Linked DNA regions of Homo sapiens: all the other regions are linked to region 2. Evidence: promoter capture Hi-C in human tissues and cell types (Jung and others, 2019). All regions are on one chromosome and are shown on one strand. The core of a region is centred on a gene start or on the middle of the fragment in contact, and the rest is flanking DNA. Distances in the headings are between cores, read along the strand shown.

Region 1 (4,809 bases), core at 2,236-4,735, 36 kb before region 2:
AAGCGAGGGAATGCGAACGATGGGGAGGTCTGAGGGAAAATACAGTGTGAGCATACTGATGTTGGAAAGAGCTGGTACCGTCAAGAAGACCAGCTGAGTGAGCAGAGCACTGAGGCCAAATGGTCTGACCTGGGCAAGGGAATGTTTCCTACGTTTTCCTCTTTCCCCACCATGCTGTAAGCTGTATGAACACAGGGACTTCATTTTCTTGACTGTTGTGTGTCCACGGGGTCTAAAGCAGTTTAATTAGCCTTCATGAAATCATGATTATGCCAGAAGGAATATTGTACAGAAAGAATCAGAACAATTTCGGTAATATTTCTTCCTTTTTTTTTTTTTTTTTGAGACAGAGTCTCACTCTGTCACCCAGGCTGGAGTGCAGTGGCACGATCTCGGCTCACTGCAGCCCCAACTTCCTGGGTTCAAGTGATCTGCCCAACTTAGTCCCCCAGGTAGCCTGGATTATGGGCGTGTGCCACCATGCCTGGCTAAATTTTGTATTTTTTGTAGAGATGAGGTTTTGCCACGTTGCCCAGGTTGGTCTTGAACTCCTGAGCTCCAGTGATTAACCAGCCTTGGCCTCCCAGAGTTCTGAGATTACCAGTGTGAGCCACTGGACCCGGCCAATATTTCTTATTTCATGAGGAAAAAAAACCCACATTTTAAATTGGTATCCCATTACACATGCACCTAGCTCTAATTACTAAGAATATTTTGTTAATTTCATAAGTATTTAGTATAAATGCAAGTGAAAATATGTAGCCGAAAATGTGAAGAAGAGCCTAGTTAGTAACTAATTTTTCCTTTTTCTTTTCTTTTCTTTTTTTTTTTTTTTTTTTTTTTGAGACAGAGTCTCGCTCTGTCGCCCAGGCCAGAGTGCAGTGGCGCGATCTCAGCTCACTGCAACCTCCGCCTCCTGGGTTCAAGCGATTCTCCTGTCTCACCCTCCCGAGTAGCTGGGACTATAGGTACACACCACCACGCCTGGCTAATTTTTTAAATTTTAGTAGAGACGAGGTTTCACCACCATATTGGTCAAGCTGGTCTCGAACTCCTGACCTCAGGTGATCCACCCACCTCGGCCTCCCAAAGTGCTGTGATTACAGGCAAGAGCCACTGCCCCTGGCAATATATAACATTTTTCTGATTAAACTTTATATTGTTTACATTTAGTTTTATTCAAATTAGACAAATCATTGAAATTTAGAAAATGAACAAGGAAAAATAAAATTGTAATTTCCATTTCCATAAAAAAGTACTGTGTATATTTTAATATATTTTCTTCTCGACTTTATGCATATATACTTACTGAAACATATTAAATTTGTTCAAATCCTTCATTTTCTTTTTCTTTCTTTTTTTGAGGCAGTCTTGCCCTGTTGCCTAGGCTGGAGTGCAGTGGCATGATCCCAGCTCACTGCAACCTCTGCCTCCCAGATTCAAGCAATACTTGTACCTCAGCTACCCAAGTAGATGGGATTACAGGCATGCGCCACCACGCTCGTCTAATTTTAGTATCGTTAGTAGAGATGGGGTTTCGCCATGTTGACCAGGCTGGTCTTGAACTCTTGGGCTCAAATGATCAGCCCACATCGGCCTCCCAAAGTGCTGGGATTACAGGCATGAGCCACCATGCCAGGCCTAAATCCTTTTTTATCATGCCTTCCTGATCTGGCTGGTACTGGGACAGACGTTAGTCTCCCGCTGTTTTACTCTGGGGTCTCCATTATAATGGCTTTGAAATGTTGATTCAGAACAACCTAATAGATTCCAAGGATTCCAGTAATCTTCTTCAATGATAATCTTCCATGAGGAGATTATTTTTCTCATGGCCCACTCTCACCTCCAGTCCTTGATTCACATAATTGGTATACTTAGATTATTTTTAAGACTCTCTCTTTTTAAATTGCATATATTCAATTATTTTAAATCTTTTTAGAGATGGGGTCTTGCTGTGTTGCCCAGGGTGGTCTCGAACTCCTTGCCTTAAGCAATCCTCCTGTCTTGGCCTCCCAAGGCAGTGGGATTATAGGTGTGAGCCACTGCTCCAGACTACTGTACATATTTAAGATGTATAACATGAAGATTGGATATACATAGTAAAATGATTACTACAGTCAAGCAAATTAACCTGTCCTTACCTTCCATAATTGTCTTTTTACGTGTGTGTGTGTGTGTGTGTGTGTGTGTGTGTGTGTGTGTGTGGTAAGAGCACCTAATAATCTGCTCTCAGCACATTTTCAATGTATAATACGATATTATTAAGTATAGTCCTCATGTTGTACATGAGATCTCTAGACTTATTCAAGACTCTTCTTTCTTCCTCTCCTTTTTCCTTTCCTTTCCCTTCCTTCCTTCCTTCCTTCCTTCCTTCCTTCCTTCCTCCCTCCCTCCCTCCCTCCCTTCCTTCCTTCCCTCCTTCCTTTTTTTCTTTCTTTCTTTCCTTCCTTCCTTCTTCCCTTCCCCTCCCCCTCCCCCTCCCCCTCCCCCCCTCCCCTCCCCCTCCCCTCCCCTCCCCTCCCCTCACTCTGTTGCCCAGGCTGGAGTGCAATGGCACGATCTTGGCTCACTGCAACCTCTGCCACCCAGGTTCAAGCAATTCTGCCTCAGTCTCCTGAGTAGCTGGGATTACAGGTGCCCACCACCATGCCTGGCTAATTTTGTGTTTTTAGTAGAGATGGGGTTTCACCATGTTGACCAGGCTGGTCTTGAACTCCTGACCTCAGGTGATCCACCCACCTCGGCCTCCCAAAGTGCTGGGATTGCAGGTGTGAGCCACTGCACCTGGCCTATTCAAGACTCTTTTATTCCCTCCCAATATTGTTGTTTTGTTTGAAAATTGTGTCTTTGCACCCTTCCTTTTAGCAGTAACAATTTTTTAACAATATCTTCAATGTGGTTAGTATCATTTCCAAGTTTCTTTTGCTAGTATTAGGTTTCTCCCCCATTGGAAGCTTCACAAAGGCAAAGATTTTTATATTTTAGAACTGCTATTACTTTAATATCTATAACTGTACCTGAAACATGATAGGTACTCAGTATTTGTTGAATGAATAAATCTGAGATAATGAAAGCATGAATGTGAGTAAACAAATTTTTAAAAGCGAAAAAAAAAAGTGACTCTTCCATTTTAAACTCTGGACTTTTATTCATTTTCAGTTTTGTACATTTTTTTCTTGTCATTGTTTTTGGGGCAGACTTATGTAAATTTACCCTGCTGTAGGAATATGTGCGCTCTAGTCTATCTCTAGAACGTATGGTCATTTTTCCGTTTATTTTCAAATACTGTTTCTGTAGTTAAAGCAGCTTAATTATTCATTTATCATTCACTTTTTAAATCTTTGTCCTATAAGGAAGTAAATGGAAATATTACTTCCTATAAGCAAGGAATTATTATATTTGTATATTTTAAAATAAGCCTTTGACCAGTTAAATGCGGCTTCCTGGCTCAATATGAGGATATTTCTTTTTAGACCTTGGGTTTTCACCCATGGAATCAGTAAGCAAATATTAGAAGATAATTTATTCTGGGGCTGAGTGGGGTGACTGACACCTGTAATCCCAAGACTTTTGGAGGCCAGGGCAGGAGGATCATTTGAGGCTAGGTGTTCCAAACCAGCCTGGCTAACATAGTGAAACCCCTGTCTCTACAAAAAATATAAACAACAAAAAAAGAAAATAATTTATTCTGGGGGATTCATACAAAAAAAAAGCTATTTGTGAGATGATGTAGACCTTCTTAAAACAGAAGATATTCTCAGTCTCACATTTTTCAGTACCCACAAAATGATGTCCAGTATGTTCTTGGATTGTTATTACACCAAATTCATTGATTCTTAAGATTTTCCCATGTCACACTGATTTGGAAAAGAATACTGTTCTAGGATAAATTTATTCCAAAACTGTGGTTTCGTGTCACTGTTCTTTCCTAGGCAAAGATTTGAGGCAGCATTTGCTTATTTGCTTTTCTGCCATTGTTTTCCACTCAGCAGCATTTCATGGGTCTTTATGCTGACAAGGGACTGACAGGCAAAAAGTACGCACTAACGATTGATGTATCGATATCTGTTGTACGAATCGTAGAGTTGTTTGGGGATCATTCTCAAACATTCTTTGACCTTGTAATCCCAATTTTTGGAATCTACTCCTAGGAAGACAACTCTTAAGAGAAAAAACTCTCAGCAGTTTTTACTAAAATGTTTAGGGTGATTCTCCAAAACAGCATATATGCCTAATAACTGAGATTAATATGATGTTTAAAAATGTTCCAGAAATGATGTTGAAGAAAACAAAGTAAAATATACACACCAATTGCATTCATTAAAAAGAAGTATAATTGGCTGGGCGCGGTGGCTCACGCCTATAATCCCAGCACTTTGGGAGGCTGAGATGGGTGCGTCACCTGAGGTCAGGAGTTTGAGACCAGCCTGGCCAACATGGTGAAACCCCGTCTCTTTACTAAAAATATATAAAAAATTAGTCAGGCATGGTGGCACACACCTGTAATCCCAGCTACTCGGTAGGCTAAGGCAGAAGAATCACTTGAACCTAGTAGGTGGAGGTTGTAGTGAGCCGAGATCGTGCCATTGTTCTCCGACTTAGGCAACAAGAGCAAAGCTCGTCTCAAAAAAAAAAAAAATTGTTGATGGAGGTTGCAAGAGAATAAAATTACGTGACTTGTTGATCTTAAGTTTGTTGAATCCTTTTCAGGTAAAGATGTTTAAACATACATTAAAAATTCAGCCATTACCGGTCATGATGAGTCACACCTGTAATTCCAGCACTTTGGGAGGCCAAGGTGGACGGGTC
Region 2 (4,404 bases), core at 438-2,937:
TAAAAAATCAGCTGGCGTGGTGGCGCTTGCCTGTGGTCCCAGCTACTCAGGAGGCTGAAGTGTGAGGATCACTTGAGCCTATGAAGGCAAAAGGCTGCAGTGAGTCATGATTGTGCCACTGCACTCCCGCCTGGATGACACAGCAAAACCGCCTTTTTTTTTTTTTTTTTTAAAGAAAACTGTTTGATTCCATTTATGTGAAATTCAAGAACAACTAAAACCTAATCAATTATTATAAGAGCCAAAATGAAAGTTAACACTGGGGACAAGGGATACGAATGACAGGCGACACAATGAAACCTCTGGGGATTTGGAATGTCCTGTATCTTGATTTCTGTGCTGGTTCACCAGGGTATACATGTAAAAATTCATCAGACTTTAACATTAAGATTTGTGCACTTTAGGCTGGGCGTGCTGGCTCACACCTGTAATCCCAGCACTTTGGGAGGCGGAGGCGGGTGGATCGCCTGAGGTCGGGAGTTTGAGACCAGCCTGACCAACATGGAGAAACCGTGTTTCTACTAAAAATACAAAATTAGCCAGGCGTGGTGGCACGTGCCTGTAATCCCAGCTACTTGGGAGGCTGAGGCAGGAGAATTGCTTGAAGCCAGGAGGCAGAGGTTGCAGTGAGCTGAGATTGTGCCACTGCACTCCAGCCTGGGAACAAGAGTGAAACTCCGTCTCAAAAAAAAAAAAAAGAAAAGAAAAGATTTGTGCACTTTACTGTATATAATATCTAGATGTTTAAAATGCAATGGGAGCATAGAGAAAGAAGTACCTAACTCGGAGTAAAGAAATCCTGGCAGACTTCACTGGGAATGTTTGAACTGAATCTTGAATAGGAGCTTGTCCATAGAGGGTCACGGATCTCCCACACAGAGAGCACCACAAAATCCTCAGCAATTTGGTGAGAGTATGGTACAAGATGATAGTGGCCTGGGGCTTGAACAAGAGGCTGAGTGCGGTGGCTCACACCTGTAATCTCAGCACTTTGGGAGGCTGAGGCGAACACCTGAGGTCAGCAGTTCGAGACCAGCCTGGCCAAAATGGCAAAACCCCGTCTCTATTAAAAATACAAACATTAGCCGGGCATGGTGGCAGGTGCCTGTAATCCCAGCTACTCAGGAGGCTGAGGTGGGAGGATTGCTTGAGTGTGGGAGGCGGAGGTTGCAGTGAGCCGAGATCATGCCACTGCACTCCAGCCTGGGTGACAGAGTGAGACCCTGTCTCAAAAAAAAAAAAAAAAAAAAGTTAGACGTCTAGTACAGGAACCATGCAACACATCGAGTCAGCCAAGGGCAAGGTAAGGAGAGTGATGAGGAAAAAGGGGTGGCTGCCCTGCTCGGTGCTGTTCTGTCAAAGAGCCGAAATTCTTCGCGGGGTGGCAGATGAGGACAGGAACAGCTGGGGTGTGGCAAGTGTTGCTGCCTGGGGAGAGCGGAGGGTGAGGTGTTTCTCACGGGTGCATCCAGTGACTCATCAGGACAGCGGAGCTCATGAGGCCATGTCTCCCGTTTCCTGCCTTAGAATCACATGAAAATGAGCAGAGGGTGGGTCATCAGGACAGGGCTCTCCGGGGAGCGGAAGCGCCTTCAATGCAGGCCTGTGGGCAGGGGCGTGGGGGCGCGCACACACACACGCCTGGGTGACCTCTACGTATATACAGAGCCTCCCTGGCCCTCCTGGAAAGAGTCCTGGAAAGACAACCTTCAGGTCCAGCCCTGGAGCTGGAGGAGTGGAGCCCCACTCTGAAGACGCAGCCTTTCTCCAGGTTCTGTCTCTCCCATTCTGATTCTTGACACCAGATGCAGGTAAGCAGAGATGAAAGGGTGAGGTGACGGCCAGGGAACAGCCTAGCCTCACAGATGAGAGTGCACGCTTCCACTCCAGTGAGCCTGGCTCTGCAGCTTGGCGTCTGTGTGACTTTGCGCCATTCACTTACCTTCTCCTGTTGCCTCAGTCTGTCAACTTCTGGCCTTTGCACCTAGAATACTCTTCCTGCCTAGTATCTCATCGTCCATCAAGTTTGGGCATGGGCAGCCCTTCCTCCGGGAAGCTTCGTTTTGCTTCTGCCAGATAGGATTAGGTTCCTCCATGTGCTTCCATGACACCTTAAGTTGGATGCCCCTGCCTGGTACTTACTGTTACCAGCTGTGAATCCAGCGAGTCTGCAGCAAACTCAATCCTTGCCTTCTCGGGGGAGAGATTCGGCTGAGGGGCAGAAGTGGGTTTAAGGCAGAGGGAGAGGCTGAAGCAAGTTTGAGAGCAGGAGTGAAGGTTTATTAAAAAGTTTTTGAGCAGCAATGAAAGGAAGTAAAGTACACTTGGAAAAGGGCCAAGTGCGTGACTTGAGACACCCAAATGTGCTGTTAGACCCTTGACTTGGCGCCTGCCTGCCGCACAGGCACTTGGGAGGGGCCGCATGCGCAGTGTGTTTACTGAAGTCGTGCGCATGCTCACTTGAGGCGTTTTTCCCTTACCCGCGGAGCAGCACTAGAGGAAGGTCACACACACCAGCTAAACTCCACCATTTTGCTTCTTAGTGTAGATGCTTGAGCCCACTCGCCCAATTCCTGAGCTCTTACCAGGAAGCTGCTGATCACCAAGTTCAGGTATTTTCTATCTATTGGGAGACTGTCTTTCCCAACGCTGGCTGTGACCAATATTATTTTAGAAAGACAGTGTAACAACCGCCTGGCCATCACCTGATAGTCACCTGACATTACTGGGGTAGAGGCCCTCTCCCGCCCTGCTCATGTCTGCTCTATTTCTTACCACACTTGATTAGAATTACTTTTTGGCCAGCCTGACCCACATGGCGAAAACCCATCACTACTAAAAATACAAAATTAGCCGGGCGTGGTGCATGCCTGTAATTCCAGCTACTTGGGAGGCTGAGGCAGGAGAATAACTTGAACCCGAGAGGCGGAGGTTGCAGTGAGCCAAGAGCATGCCGCTGCACTCCAGCCTGGGCAACAAGAGCGAGACTGTGTCTCAAAAAAAAAAAAAAAAAAAAAAAAAAAGAATTGCTTTTTGCGTCAGCAGTGTCCCCACTAGACTTTAAGCTCCTCAAGGAAAGGGATTACATCTTTTTCATCGTTATATCCCTAGCCCCCCAAGTGTCTGTCAGGTAGTGATCACTTAATAAATATCCGACTGAAGGAAGAATGAAAGAAAAGCCTTGCTGGGTGGCGAGGGAGAGACACAGATGTAGAGAATGTGCGGTCTCTTCCTCCATGGAATTGAGCCGATCACTTCTGTTGTTGCCTGGACATCTAGCCGATGACGTGCTCACCTAGCTAGGACCTCAGGACAGAACAAGGAACTCCCCAGCAGCCTGGTTTTAAGGTTTTACCTTCTGATCTTGCTTGTCTCTTCAGATATCAAATTAGGCCACCTCTTTGCTAACCTCCTGGTTCACATTTTTGGAAGGGTTTCTCCAAATGTTATAATTTCTAGGGGAATAAAGTCAGGAGGAGGGGTGAAATTCACACGAAGCCGCAGTGCGGCAAGTGCTTTTAGTGTTTGATTGGCGGACAGCCAGGGCTCTGAATTCCACTCATCCAAAAGCCATGCTCCAGCTGGTAGTTTTCCCTCGCTGTCCATCATTTTTAGTTTCCCCTTTAAGAGTTTTCTGGGCTGGGCGCTGTGGCTCACACCTGTAATCCCAGCACTTTAGGAGGCCAAGGTAGGTGAATCACCTGAGGTCAGGAGTTCAAGACCAGCGTGGCTAACCTGGAGAAACCCCATCTCTACTAAAAATACAAAATTAGCCGGGCGTAGTGGTGTGCACCTGTAATCCCAGCTACTCAGGAGTCTGAGGCAGGAGAATCACTTGAACCCAGGAGGCGGAGGTAGCAGTGAGCTGAGGCCGCGCCATTGCACTCCAGCCTGGGCAACAAGAGTGAAACTCTGTCTCAAAAAAAAAACAAAAAACAAAACAAAAACAAAAACAAAAAAAACAGACTTTTCTGATGGGAACGTTTTCTGTAGAAGAGATCGTCAGGGGGGTTGATGTTGCTGAAGTGTGTAGACGGTGCTTTCTCAGAGGTGCCGTGATTTGAAGGCACTAAATGCATTCCTGCACAACGGCGTCTCCTGGCCCCATGATCTAGAGCACCCGCTTGAAAGGCCAACCACACACCCATCTTTCCTTGGGCCCCGGTCAGACATCTGGGTGGGCAGTGGATTAAAGTTGTGAGTTGTTAACACCCTGGGTGGTTAATTTGCCTCAACACAGAATTACACACTGCAAGCCCCGCACTGCACGATGGGACCGTCTCGGAGGGAGGATGTGCAGACATGCGGGGACATCGCAGCAGTGTGGGCAGGCTGTGAGGGGGCCGTTCTCCACAGGCGCCCTGCTCCCAGGAGCAGGACAGGTTCCTTGCTGTGACTGAGGAG
Region 3 (4,757 bases), core at 2,192-4,691, 53 kb before region 2:
GTATTTTTATTAGAGACAGGGTTTCATTATGTTAATCAGGCTGGTCTTGAACTCGACTTCAGGTGATCCACCTGCCTTGGCTTCCCAAAATGCTGGGATTACAGGAGGTGTGAGCTACAGTGCCTGGCCAGGATAGTAAACTTTTTTTTTTTTTTTTTTTGAGATGGAGTTTCGCTCTTGTTGCCCAGGCTGGAGTGCAATGGCAGTCTTGGCTTACTGCAACCTCTGTCTCCTAGGTTCAAGTGATTCTCCTGCCTCAGCCTCCCAAGTAGCTGGGATTACAGGCATGCACCATCACGCCTGGCTAATTTTTTGTATTTAGTAGAGACAGGGGCTCACCATGTTGGTCAGGCTGGTCTCAAACTCCTGACCTCAGGTGATCCACCCACCTTGGCCTCCCAAAGTGCTGGGATTACAGGCATGAGCCACCATGCCCAGCCGATAGTAAACTTTTTACACAAGTTTGATTAAGTCTATTGTAACTGGGCCTGAATTTTCTCATTTGTAATACAAGATGACTGGATGGAAGATGTTTGGATTAATTATACATGAATGATTTGAAAGTTTTTAAACTTTTTTATTTTTTGAGGGAAGGCACCATATGAATCTTGAGTGTTTTAAAACAAGAAATACTGTGCTCGCTGCGGCAGCACATTTACTAAAATTGGAACGAGACAGAGATTAGCACGGCCCCTGTGCAAGGGTGACATGCAGTTCGTGAAGGGTTTCATATGTTTTATTAAAAAAATACTTTTAGATAAGGACATTTTTAGAATTGTTTCAAAATTAATTTAAAAAATTTTCAATTCTATTTTTTCTCCCCAAAGCTCCTAAAAGACGACGGCCTGCACGTTCAATTTTTGATGGTTTCCGGGATTTTCAGACTGAAACTAGTAGGTATCTATGGACCAGTTTATCATCTCCCTCTTCTCTTCCTATTAAAAAGACAAAGATGATTACTATTAGGCCCAATTACTTTTAAGTTTTCACCTTCTTTAAAAAGTGAAATTATGGATCCAGAATGTGATTAATTCTCCCCTGAGCTAAATTGTTCCAAATTCTAACCTATTTGGTTATAGAAAAATAGTAAAGGAGATGGAGATAATGTAGGAAATATGGTAATTGATAAACTTAATTCGCTTGTGAATAAACACTTAAAATGCTTACTATAATAAAATAAACTGATTTCCCTCAGGATCCTGACTTCTGTCAATGAAAGGAATATATAATGAAAATGGTTATTATAAGAGATTGAAAAATAGGAGGAAAAGCCATGCCACCCAAAGCAGCCACTATTAATATTTTGGCTACAGTTATTTGAAATATTTTTGTGTAATAAATTAGAATGAGAATCTTGGTCTTATGCTTTTAGAGGATTTAGTATTGATTTAGCAATGGAATCCTAAAGAAAGGACAGTTAGGTTAGGATATATGAGAAACCCTTGGACCATGCTTGATTTTGTAGTTTATTTAGAATGAGTTCATTGAGGCACAGATAGGTCTTGTGACTTTGGAGAGAATTGATGGGGAACCTAAACTGACTCAAGTCATCTAGGGAATCCTGTGTCCTTCCAGTGGAAGGTGACAACAGTGGTCATCATCTCTACTGTCATAATCTTTTTTTTATTATTACTATTTATTTTTGAGATGGAGTCTCGCTCTGTCACCCAGGCTGGAGTGCAGTGGCATGATCTCAGCTTACTGCAACCTTCACCTCTCAGGTTCAAACGATTCTCCTGCCTCAGCCTCCCAAGTAGCTGGGACTACAGGCTTGTGCCACCACACCCGGCTAAGTTTTGTATTTTTAGTAGAGATGAGGTTTCACCATGTTGCCCAGGCTGGCCTTGAACTCCTGACCTCAGGTGATCCGCACATCTCAGCCTCCCATAGTGCTGGGACTACAGGCATGCGCCACTACACCTGGCTAATTTTTTTTTTTTGAGATGGAGTCTCACACTCTGTTGCCCAGGCTGGAGTGCAGTGGCGCGATCTCTGCTCACTGCAACCTCTGCCTCCAGGGTTCAGGCTATTCTCCTGCCTCAGCCTCCCGAGTAGCTGGGATTACAGGCATGCTCCACCATGCCCGGCTTTTTTTTTTTGTATTTTTAGTTGAAACGGGGTTTCACCATCTTGGCCAGGCTGATCTCAAACTCCTGACCTCAGGTGATCTGCTGACCTCGGCCATCCAAAGTTCTAGAATTATAGACATGAGCCACCGCACTCAGCCTCTCCCATGTTACAGTTAGTTTCTGAATATGTGAAGAGGTTACTTTGATTAAGTGAATATTTTCAGTTAATTTTCTTTGTATCCTTGGGATAGGGAATACCACCAAGTCTTAAGATTCCTCTTATCTCCCTTTGCATTTTTTTTTTTCAGAGTCAACATTAGATCTTTGTATTTGAGGTCAAGCATATTGACAGCAATTCCTTCAATTGACAGAAGTTTGTGTTTTTTTTTTTTTTTTTTTCAGTGTGATTCATGATTATGGCTAACTGAAACTTTCATCCTTCTGTATTATAGTTCGGCAAGAACAAGAATTAAGAAATGGAGGAGCTATCGATAAGAAATTAACTACCCTTGCAGATCTATTCCGGCCACCCATTGATTTGATGCATAAAGGCAGCTTTGAAACAGTAAGTTGTTGGAGAGTCAGTGCCTTAACTATGAATCCTTTTGCATTTTCAATGCCTTTTTTTAAAAAATTACTTGTTTTAGAGCAGGTCTCGCTCTGTCGTCCAGGCTGGACTGCAGTGACACAATCATAGCTCACTGCAGCCTTGAACTCTTGGGCTCAAGGGATCCTCCTACCTCAGCTTCCCGAGTAGCTAGGGCTATAGGCATGTGCCACCACACTCAGCTAATTAAAAAAATTTTTTTGGTAGAGACAGGGTCTCACTGTGTCGCCCAGGCTGGTCTCGAATGCCTAGGTTCAAGCAATCCTCTTGCCTCAGCCTCCCAAACTGCTTGGATTATAGGTGTGAGCCACTGCACCTGGCCTTCAGTGGCATTTTTTATTTTTATAAGAACAAAAAACCATTGTCAGTGTATAGGGAATTGGCATTATAATAAGTATATCTACATGATATGCCTAAAGGTTACATTGATTTATATTTCTACCAGCAATATATGAAATATATTTCTACCAGCAGTATATGAGATTGATGAAATCCTTTTATTAGCCTTGTGCGGTGTCATTTTAGAATCTTTGCCATTTTGATAGCTTTTTAAAATATCTCACTTGTTCATATATCTTTGACTACTACTGAGAATAGTGTGTGTGGTTTGTTAGCCATTTGTAAATTGTTGATAGGTGTCTTTTGTCTATATTTCTGTGCGGATCGTAATGTGTTTGAAAAGAATATCTCTAATTGGAGAACACATTCACCCTCAGTTCTTCTTGGTTTTATCGTGACTAAACCCAAACAAAAACTTTCCAGAGTATGTTTACTTGGTTGTATGCTAACTTACAGACTTACTTAGGGCAGAGGAAAGATCATTCTTTTTAATAATCCTTGGGACCCATTCTCTTGCATTAGGAGGAACACATATGTTAAATGAAGGAGTTTAGTAAAGATTTTAGATACTCTTCTGTTGAGGTGTTCAAACAGCTTGCCTTTTCGTGTTGATTAACATGTTAATGCTCTTTTGAATTACAATAGCATTTCCATAGATGTAAATCAGTTACATTTCAGTTGAGTCTTTTTTTTTTTTTTTTCCTTGAGATGGAGTCTCGCCGGAGTGCAGTGGCACGATCTCAGCTCACTGCAACCTCCGCCTCCCAGGTTCAAGTAATTCTCCTGCCTCAGCCTCCTGAGTAGCTGGGAAAACAGGTGCGCACCACCACGCCTGGCTAATTTTTTGTATTTTTAGTAGAGACGGGGTTTCACCATATTGGCCAGGCTGGTCTCAAACTCCTGACCTCATGATCTGCCCACCTCAGCCTCCCACAGTGCTGGGATTACAGGCGTGAGCCACCGCGCCCAGCCTTCAGTTAAGTCTTACCTGTTAGGACCCTGTAGGCCAAAGAATAACTGCAAGAATGATGTGTATCAAGCCCAACAGGTGCCCCAAACTAACTACTACTTGGGAGGCTGAGGTGGGAGGATCCCTTGAGTTCAGGAGTTTGAGGCTGTGGTGTGTGATGATCATGCCTATGAAAACCACTGCACTCCAGCCTGGGCAACATAGTGAGACCCTATCTTTCCCTTTTCTTTGTCTTTTTTTTTTGAGACAGGTTCTCATTCTGTCACCTGGGATGGAGTGCAGTGGCAAAATCATGGCTCACTGCAGCCTCCAACTTATGGTCTCAATTGATCCCCTGGTCTTAACCTCCCAAATAAGTAGGGCTACAGACACCCACTACCACACCTGGCCAATTTTAAAAATATTTTGTGGAGAGGGGGTCTTGCTGTGTTCCCCAGGCTGGTCTCAAATTCCTGGTGTCAAGTGATCCTTCTGCCTTGGTTCCCAAAGTGCTGGGATTACAGGCATGAGCTGAAACCCCATTTCTTAAAATAAACAACCGATGTATATCAGCTGCATATTTGAATATGTTATGATTATTTTTTTTTAAATGTGTCCTTTGATATACTTTTACACTGTCATACATGAAGTATTTAGGAGAAGGAATTTCAATGTAAGCTTGTGTGTTAGTTTGCTTGCATTGCTAGAAAGGAATCCCTGAGACTGGGCAATTTATAAAGAAAAAGGTATATTTTGACTCAACGTTTCTACAGGCTGTATAGAAAGCATTGTG

What was found. Contacts are between HindIII fragments. The study calls those that stand out against the background at their distance.
Region 1: a contact is called between a fragment that was not itself captured here and the fragment with the promoter of TM4SF19 in region 2, in 1 of the 25 tissues and cell types used here (pancreas).
Region 3: a fragment that was not itself captured here is called in contact with the fragment with the promoter of TM4SF19 in region 2 in 4 of the 25 tissues and cell types used here (aorta, mesendoderm cells, psoas muscle and 1 more).

Annotation. Positions count from the first base shown.
Region 1 is chr3:196,372,580-196,377,388 of GRCh38, reverse strand. All of the region lies in intron 5 of UBXN7 (UBX domain protein 7), which reads left to right. Among named protein-coding and RNA genes, the nearest start is that of TM4SF19-DYNLT2B, 37 kb to the right of the region's middle. The HindIII fragment of the contact is 7,607 bases long and covers 1-4,809 here.
Region 2 is chr3:196,335,671-196,340,074 of GRCh38, reverse strand. It overlaps TM4SF19 (transmembrane 4 L six family member 19), which reads left to right and starts at 1,687. Exons shown (of 5, transcript NM_138461.4): 1 at 1,687-1,811. TM4SF19-DYNLT2B (TM4SF19-DYNLT2B readthrough (NMD candidate)) reads left to right here and starts at 1,655. Exons shown (of 6, transcript NR_037950.1): 1 at 1,655-1,811. RefSeq lists a silencer at 1,383-1,554 and enhancers at 1,303-1,597, 964-2,163. The HindIII fragment of the contact is 8,804 bases long and covers 1-4,299 here.
Region 3 is chr3:196,389,690-196,394,446 of GRCh38, reverse strand. It overlaps UBXN7 (UBX domain protein 7), which reads left to right. Exons shown (of 11, transcript NM_015562.2): 4 at 828-893; 5 at 2,522-2,634. It also overlaps the pseudogene RNU6-1279P. Among named protein-coding and RNA genes, the nearest start is that of UBXN7-AS1, 39 kb to the left of the region's middle. The HindIII fragment of the contact is 8,329 bases long and covers 1-4,757 here.